3 separate regions of the Homo sapiens genome follow, and regions 1 and 2 are each linked to region 3. The links are contacts of gene promoters, found by promoter capture Hi-C in blood cells and fetal thymus (Javierre and others, 2016). All regions are on one chromosome and are shown on one strand. Each heading gives the region's core, a stretch centred on a gene start or on the middle of the fragment in contact. The rest is flanking DNA. Distances are from core to core; before and after follow the strand shown. Region 1 has its middle 4.0 kb from the start of ZNF77. Region 2 has its middle 2.4 kb from the start of S1PR4. Region 3 holds the start of TLE5 (TLE family member 5, transcriptional modulator).

Evidence for each region. Contacts are between HindIII fragments. The CHiCAGO score rates a contact against its expected background, and 5 or more counts as called.
Region 1: a contact is called between a fragment that was not itself captured here and the fragment with the promoter of TLE5 in region 3, in 3 of 17 cell types (naive CD8 T cells, total B cells and naive B cells). The highest score is 5.5, in naive CD8 T cells.
Region 2: a contact is called between a fragment that was not itself captured here and the fragment with the promoter of TLE5 in region 3, in 6 of 17 cell types (endothelial precursors, naive CD4 T cells, naive CD8 T cells and 3 more). The highest score is 6.3, in endothelial precursors.

The regions. Positions count from the first base shown.
Region 1 is chr19:2,947,495-2,950,358 of GRCh38, reverse strand. No RefSeq gene overlaps it. Among named protein-coding and RNA genes, the nearest start is that of ZNF77, 4.0 kb to the right of the region's middle. The HindIII fragment of the contact is 2,883 bases long and covers 116-2,864 here.
Region 2 is chr19:3,174,917-3,177,921 of GRCh38, reverse strand. No RefSeq gene overlaps it. Among named protein-coding and RNA genes, the nearest start is that of S1PR4, 2.4 kb to the left of the region's middle. RefSeq lists an enhancer at 289-1,171. The HindIII fragment of the contact is 1,187 bases long and covers 657-1,843 here.
Region 3 is chr19:3,061,245-3,064,013 of GRCh38, reverse strand. It overlaps TLE5 (TLE family member 5, transcriptional modulator), which reads left to right and starts at 1,519. Exons shown (of 7, transcript NM_001130.6): 1 at 1,519-1,840; 2 at 2,757-2,769. The coding sequence starts at 1,814. RefSeq lists silencers at 1,304-1,513, 2,436-2,705. The HindIII fragment of the contact is 8,766 bases long and covers 1-2,769 here.

The sequences.
Region 1 (2,864 bases), core at 308-2,807, 110 kb after region 3:
TGACCCCCTAGGCCTGAGGATCCTAGGCCTGAGTAACCCATCGGATTTGGAGGGAAGGGTGGGGTTTAGGTGAAATGTAAATACTGCGTGGTTTCCATTTGGCAAAGAGCAAGCTTGTAAAGGGGTCACCCTCGGGTCTGGGCTGCGAAGTGCAGCCGGGACCTGTTTCCTTGGGAACCACAAGATAAGACCGCTGTAGATTGTTATGTCCGGAAACCGCTTATCAGAGCCCTGCACCTGGGTTGGAAATGGAGACGGATTCTCTGTGTCCAAGAAAATCAGACCCTCCGGCCGGAAAAGGGAAGTTTATTCTTACTGATAAAATGTCAATCACTGTGTATGATTGTAATGGGCAAGGAAGGCATTTAGCGAGCTAGAAGACATTGATGGCTCAGAAAAAGGTGTCCTTGGCAAAAATACTGTTTTCTGTTAATTTTCCAACTGATACCATCTGGGTCTGTCCTCCCAGCCTGATGAATGTGTAGGCAGATACTTTCTCAGTCGGAGTTGATTTTTATTATCTTGATTGCTGCATCCTGTGCACAGAGGTTTTCTGCTCAGCTGGGCTTCATCCTGGGGTCCCAGTCCTGGCCCCAAGCCTTAATCAGCTCTCGGGTGATATTAGGCAAGTTGCCAAGCCCCTAAGTGCCTCAGTTTCCAGGTCTGTAAAATACATAACATTACCTGCATTTGTCAAATAGTGCTGTGTGTGGATTATTATTGGCAGCTCATCATCACCATTATCACCCTCCTGTAAACGTCTTGGACCCCTTAAGTGAAGACAGCAGGGTTACGGCGGATAAAATGATGGACTTCAGAGAAAAGACTCTAAGACCAAATAGAGTCTAAAGCAGTGATTATCAAAGAGGGGAGGAGAAATTTTACGCCCAGGGGACACTGGACAATGTCTGCAGACTTGGTTGTCACAACCGGGGATGGGGTTGGGGCGACTGGCATCCAGTGGATGAGGAGGTCTAGGGTGCTGCTCAACACCCTGCAATGAATAGCACGCCAGTCTTTTGGATTTGAGCCCACCTTAATCTCATTTTAATCGAATTGCCTCTTTAAAGGCCTATCTTCAAATACCTTCTGAGGTACTGTGGGTTAGGCCTTCACCTTACGGATTTGTGGGGACGCAATTCACCCGTTAACGCTATACATACACAAAAATTCATAGACTACACCTCAAAAGAAAAATTCAACATGACCATATAATACTATAAAATAAAAGAAGATGCAATACCTGGTTTGGGGTTGGATCTTCGGAGGACCAGCTGTAAAGACCATTTGGGGTATAATTGAAGGAAATACGATTATGGGCTAGGTATAAAGGAATGATTGTTAACTATCTAAAGTGCGAATATGAAGTGTGGACTTTTAGATAAAAATACAGATTTTTCTCTAAAATAGCATTTGGGAGGTGTTTAAGAGCAGAGTGTTACAGTGTCCTCAATTTACTTTTTTTTTTTTTTTTGAGACGGAGTCTCGAGCTGTCGCCCAGGCTGGAGTGCAGTGGTGTGATCTCGGCTCACTGCAGCCTCCACCTCCCGGGTTCAAGTGATTCTCCTGCCTCACCCTCCCGAGTAGCTGGGACTACAGGTGCCCGCCACCACACCCAGCTAATTTTTGTATTTTTAGTAGAGATGGGGTTTCACCATCTTGGCCAGGCTACTCTTGAACTCCTGACCTCGTGACCCGCCTGCCTCGGCCTCCCAAAGTGCTGGGATTACAGGCGTAAGCCACTGCCCCCAGCCACTCAATTGACTTTGAAATAATTCTTTTTTTTTTTTTTTTTTTGAGACAGAGTTTTGCTCTGTTGCCCAGGATAGAGTACAATGGCGTGATCTCAGCTCAACGCAAGCTCCGCCTCCTGGGTTCACGCCATTCTCCTGCCTCAGCCTTCCGAGTAGCTGGGACTACAGGCACTCGCCACCACGCCCAGCTGATTTTTTGTATTTTTAGTAGAGACGGGGTTTCACCATGTTAGCCAGGATGGTCTTGATCTCCTGACCTTGTGATCCGCCCAACTCGGCCTCCCAAAGTGCTGGGATTACAGACGTGAGCCACCGCACCCTGCGACTTTGAAATAATTCTATGTAGATATTGGCTGTCAGTCGGCTAGAACAATTGATCAGGAAACATCTCTGTCTTCACAAATTACCTGATATGTTGAGTAATGTGAGTATAACACGAATTTCATATTTGTTTATGTTCAGTTTCAACCCTAAGAAACACTAAGTGAACAGAAGAAATTGCACATAACTGAAGAGTCTGGTAGGAAAACAGAAAATGCGCGCACACACCTCAAATACCAAGTCACACTGTTTCCTCTGCTTTAAAACTTAACATTAGATTTCCGACAACCCTCTCTCCACCACTGCATACTAACTCTGGAAATTTAGATTCCCTTGCCCAATTCCACAAGCAACCTTTGGATCTTCTGCAAGGTACGTTGCTACATTTATTATAGTATTTATGTGTTTCTTTTCCTTTTTTTTTTTTTTTTTTTGAGACAGAGTTTTGATCTTGTTGCCCAGGCTGGAGTGCAGTGGCATGATCTCGGCTCACTGCAACCTCCACCTCCTGGGTTCAAGTGATTCTCCTGCCTCAGCCTCCCGATTAGCGGGGGTTCCAGGCATTTGCCACCATGTCCAGCTCATTTTTGTATTTTTAGTAGAGATGGGGTTTCTCCATGTTTGTCAGGGTGGTCTCGGACTTTGGACCTCAGGTGATCTGCCCACCTTGGCATCCCAAAGTGCTGGGATTACAGGCGTGAGCCACCGCGCCCGGCCTATTTATGTGTTTCTTAATGATGTAAGGTGAAAAGCTGTGCTACTGTTTACTTCTTCAGGGACTCTGATAAT
Region 2 (3,005 bases), core at 1-2,500, 110 kb before region 3:
GGGAAACTGAGGCCCAGAGAGCCCGAGGCGTTGCAGAAGGGGAAACTGAGGCCCAGAGAGCCCGATGCGTTGCAGAAGGGGAAACTGAGGCCCAGAGAGCCCGAGGCGTTGCAGAAGGGGAAACTGAGGCCCAGAGAGCCCGATGCGTTGCAGAAGGGGAAACTGAGGCCCAGAGAGCCCGATGCGTTGCAGAAGGGGAAACTGAGGCCCAGAGAGCCCGATGCGTTGCAGAAGGGGAAACTGAGGCCCAGAGAGCCTGATGCGTTACAGAAGGGAAAACTGAGGCCCACAAAGGCGGCCTGAGGCCAACTTTCTGCCCATGGGAGGACACACAGGTCCAGGGAGAGAGACCCCCAGGGACAAGCTGGTAGGGTCTCGGGGCCAGGCGCCCATTTTGGGATTCATGGTTGCCTCTCCTGCCCCTGAGCTCACCCTGCTGGGAGCAGAGCTGCTGGCCCCCTGGGGCAGCCCCCCACTGGGATTGAGGTGCATAGGAAAAGTAGGGACTTGCTCACCCCATCCCCATGGCCCTGCTGACAACGGCTCACGGTGACTCAGCCTGAGGTGAGGTGGCTGTGGGTCTAAGTGGGAGACACACCCTGCTCTGGCGTCTGAGGAGGGAGGCAGGCTCTGCCCTGGCGTCTGAGGGGGAAGCTTGGACCTGCCTGGGGTCTGAGGGGGGAGGGTTGGCCTTGCCCTAGGTTCTGAGAGGGGAGGCATGACCTTACCCTGGGGTCTGAGCGGAGAGGCTCAGCCTTGTCCTGGGGTCTGAGGAGGGATGCGAGGCCCTGTGCTGTGGTCTGAGAGGGGAGACACACCCTGCCCTGGGTCTGAGGAGGGAGGTATGCCCTGCCCTGAGGTTTGAGCGGGGAGGCTTGAACCTGCCTGGGGTCTAGGGGTGAGGGTTGGCCTTGCCTTGGGGTCTGAGTGGGGAGGCATGGCCCTGTCCTGAGTCTGAGGGGGGAGGCGAGGCCCTGCCTTGGGGTCTGAGGGGAGAGGTGAGGCCCTGTCCTGGGGTCCAAGGGAGGAGGCGAGGCCCTACCCTGAGGTCTGAGTGGGGATGCTCAGCCTTGCCCTGGGGTCTGAGGAGGGAGGCTCAGCCTTGCCCTGGGGTCTGGGGCATGTAGGGGCTTGGACATCATCTGTCACGGATGGAGTGTGAGGTCTCTGCTCTCCAGCTCCCCCAGTGTCTGTGACCCCCCACTCGTCCCCATCCAGAAGGCCTTGGGGTGTGGGGTGATTTGGGAAATAATGCAGGCCCCAGAAGTGTGAGTAGGACCCAGGATAAGTCCCTGCTGGGAGCCTCCTCCCGCCTGCAATCACCCCCAGGCCAGGCCCACTTACCACCAAGGAGGGTCCTGAGGGGCCCCACCTGCCCTCTGTCCCCCCAGGAGCCTGTGGTCTTCAGCCTTCCTGAGACAATGGTGTCCTTGGCCTCAGGGTGGGGGCAGCTACACTAATTCTACCAGTAAGGTGTCCTGGAAGGGTCACAAGTGTACTGCGAGGACACAGGTGTCCCATGAGGGGCACAGATGTCCCGTGAGGGCTCAGGTGTTGAAGGCCGAAAGAATGAGGGTTGTGATCAACTCAGTATACCACTGGAGGCTACGTGAGTAAACAGCAAACTGTTCTCATGAAAGCAGGCTGTTGGCAAACTGACAAACTGCGTCTGCCGCCCAGAAGGAATGCTGAGGGCAGTCACGCCCCAGGCACAAGTGTTTCTTGCAAGTAGGCAAATCTGAAACCTGTTAGCAATAACGTGAACGTGTGAACAATCAAGCAGCTGGCCAATCGTTTCCTCCCCCTGCTTTCTACCCAATAAGTACGAAGGGCTGTAGAAGCTTGGGGGGCTGCCTTTGCTCACTAGAAGCAGGGAGCTCTCTTTTTCTTCCCCTGGTCCCTTCCTTTAAAACAGTTTCTTCTGTCTTAAGTTTTCATTTCTACATTCGTCCCTTCGTTCAGTCTTGTAATGATGGTCTCAAGTAGTAACAATAGTAACTGTCGTAGTGACAGTCTCAGGTAGTAATCATGGCAACCACACACAGGCGTCCCATGAAGGGTACAGGCATCCCATGAGGGCACAGGTGTCCCATGAGAATGCAGGCGTCCCATGAGGGGCACAGGCATCCCATGAGAACACAGGCATCCCATGAGGGGCACAGGCGTCCCATGAGGGTACAGGCATCCCATGAGGGCACAGGTGTCCCATGAGAATGCAGGCGTCCCATGAGGGCACAGGCATCCCATGAGGGGCACAGGCATCCCATGAGAGCACAGATGTCCCATGAGGGGTACAGGCGTCCCATGAGGGTACAGGCATCCCATGAGAACACAGGCGTCCCATGAGGGGTACAGGCATCCCATGAGGGCACAGGCATCCCATGAGAACACAGGTGTCCCATGAGAACACAGGTGTCCCATGAGGGCACAGGCGTCCCATGAGAATGCAGGCGTCCCATGAGAACGCAGGCGTCCCATGAGGGCACAGGCGTCCCATGAGGGCACAGGTGTCCCATGAGGGGCACAGGCGTCCCATGAGAACACAGGCGTCCCATGAGGGGCACAGGCGTCCCATGAGAACACAGGCGTCCCATGAGGGCACAGGCGTCCCGTGAGAACACAGGTGTCCCATGAGGGGCACAGGCGTCCCATGAGAACACAGGCGTCCCATGAGGGCACAGGCGTCCCATGAGAACACAGGTGTCCCATGAGGGGCACAGGCGTCCCATGAGAACACAGGCGTCCCATGAGGGCACAGGCGTCCCATGAGAACACAGGTGTCCCATGAGGGGCACAGGCGTCCCATGAGAACACAGGCGTCCCATGAGGGCACAGGCGTCCCATGAGGGGCACAGGCGTCCCATGAGAACACAGGCGTCCCATGAGGGCACAGGCGTCCCATGAGGGCACAGGTGTCCCATGAGGGGCACAGGCGTCCCATGAGAACACAGGCGTCCCATGAGGGGCACAGGCGTCCCATGAGAACACAGGCGTCCCATGAGGGC
Region 3 (2,769 bases), core at 270-2,769:
CCAGCTACTCAGGAGGCAGAGGCAGGAGAATCACTTGAATCCGGGTGGCAGAGGCTGCAGTCAGCCAACATCACATCACTGCACTCCAGCCTGGGCAACAGAGTGAGACTCCATCTCAAAAACAAACAAACAGCTGATCACGGTGGCTCACGCCTGTAATCCCAGCACTTTGGGAGGCCGAGGCGGGCAGATCATCTGAGGTCGGGAGTTCAAGACCAGCCTGACCAACATGGAGAAACCCCGTCTCTACTAAAACTCCAAAATTAGCGGGGCGTGGTGGCACGTGCCTGTAATCCAGCTACTCGGGAGGCTGAGGCAGGAATCACTTGAACCCAGGATGCGGTGAGCTGAGATTGTGCCATTGTACTCCAGCCTGGGCAACAAGAGCGAAACTCCATCTCAAAAAACAAACCAACCAACCACCAGGTCCCGTCCCTCCTCCTCCCACAGCCTTCCAGGGCTCCTACCTCACTCAGAGCAAAATCCCAAGTCCTCCCCAAGACCCACAAGTCCTTGCTGGACTGGCCTGCTTCACCAGCTACAGAGTTAGCAGGGCCCAGTGCAAAAGAAAACTCAAAGGCCCCTTGTTCAAAAATGATTAGAAATCTCAAAATGCAGCAGTAAATATTAACCCAAGCACAAGCCCTGCTGTGGGGTGGGGGGGCCCTGGACAAAAGCACGAAGCCCCCGGCCCTGCCTCCCTCCGGCCTTCCTGACCTCCCCCCGGGCACTCTGCTGCCAGGCACAGTCCTGCCCCAGGGCCTTTGCACCTGTTGGTCCTGCCTCTGACTACCTCTGTACCCCATCCCCCTGTTCTCCCTCCTTCTTCAGGTCGCTTTAGGGGTGGAGGAAGCCGTCTCTGATCCTCCCTCCCACCTCTTTAACTTTGCACCTTCCTACCCTGCCATTCTCCCGGCTGGTTTTTCTGCAGAACTGTCCCCACCATCTGACCTGCCAGGAATTCAGCTTGTGAATTTGTCTCTGTCTGTCTCCAGGCACCACCACCAGGGCAGGGACCCACCCCCGCCCCGCCCCACCCCAGGGCCCTGGAGCAGCGGGGCCTGGCACACAGTAGGCGTTCTATAAATGTGTCACAAGAATGGCTTCCCTCAGGAAGGCGGCATTACCGCTGCCTTTCTGCAGAAAAGGAAACTAAGGCTCAGCAAGAACCACCGCCCAGCCAGAGCCAAGGTCACAGAGCACGTCCGTGGCACGCGTCCAGGTCGTGCCACAGCAGGGCCGGCGGCTTCGACGCGGGCAGCCGGGTCCCTTTTCTTTGACAGATGGGGAAACCGAGGCCCGGCCGGCTGCCGGGTAGGAGAGGGTGGCGGGGGCCGCTGCCCGGGGCGGGGGCGGGCCGGGCCCAAGGTCACCGCGGCGGGCGGGCCACGGGGAGGCGGGCCGGCGTGGGGATCCGCAGGCCTCCCCGGGCGCGCGCGTCCCCCCCCTCGGCGGCGCGCACGGGGCACGGGCGGCGGCAGGTGGAGCCGAAGCCTCCGCAGCAGCCGAGCCGCGGCCACTGCCGGCGTCGCCGCCATTAGACAATAGCGGTGGGGCCGGGGAGCGGGGAGGCGGGCGGCGGGGAGGGGCGGGGAGGGGCGCCGGGCGCGCAGGAAGCGGGGCCCGGGGCGCGCCGGGGCCGGGCGCGCGGGGAGGGGGCGCAGGAAGCGGGCGAGGCCGGGCGCGGGAGGCGGCGGCGGCCCCGGGAGCTGCCGATCGGCGCCGGGACAAAGGCGCGGCCGCCCGGCGCCCCCAGCAGCCCGAGCCGGGGCGCACAGCCGGGGCGCAGCCCGCGCCCCCCGCCGCGATTGACATGATGTTTCCACAAAGCAGGCATTCGGTAAGCGGGGCCCGTCCGGCCGGCGCCCCCACCCCGGATCCGGGCCCTACGCCCCCGACCCCCGGCTCCCGGCCCCGCGCCCCCCAACCCCCAGGCCCGGTGCCTCCGGCCCGGCGCCCCCCCCAACTCCCCGGCCCTGTCTTCCCTCTCCAGCTCCCAGCCCGGCGCGACCCCCCTCCCCTCCTGCCGCCGGCCCCCGGACACCCCCCCTCCAGTTCCCGATCCACCCCAGCTTCCGGGCCCCGAGCCCCCCCGCCGCAGCTCCCGGCTTGGCGCCCCCCCCCCCCAACCCGCCGGGACAGTCAGGGCCTCGGACGGCCTTGGCCTCGGGCCTGGGGCGCTCCGGAAGCCCCGCGAGGCACCTCTAGCCCGGGGATCCTTTGGGGGCCTGTGGTGGGGGGGGTGATCCGAGGCGCACCCCTCCCGGAAGAGCGTGTCCCCGAGGAAGGGCGCTGGGAATCTGGGGTTGGGCCCCCCCGGAAGATTTCGAGCACCGAGAGAGAGACCCCTCCCCCAAGAGGACTTTGCAGGGAGGAATCGCTGCCCCCCAACTTGGGGAGGGGGCTCCCTAGGGCGCGTTTCTACCCCCCTCGGATGTGCACTCCCTCCCGGCGCTTTGGAGGGCGGTAGAGGGCGCACCCTGCCCCCCATCTAGGGCGGGCCTTAAAACGCACCCCCACTGCCTGGGGGTGGCGGGGGACGGGGCGGCTCCGGGCGCACCCACCCGCTCGGCTTCCCCCGGGAGAGGCGGGGGGCAGGAAGCGCGGGTGGGGTCGCGCCAGGGGCCGTAAACACGGGCCCAGGAAGTGGGGCAGGAGGGGGGGCGCCGCAGCTGCGCGGCCGCTCCCTCCTAGCCGGCCCTTGAGGGGGGTCCAGCCCACGCCTGGGCCTGACCCGGGCCGCCCCATCCCTACAGGGCTCCTCGCACC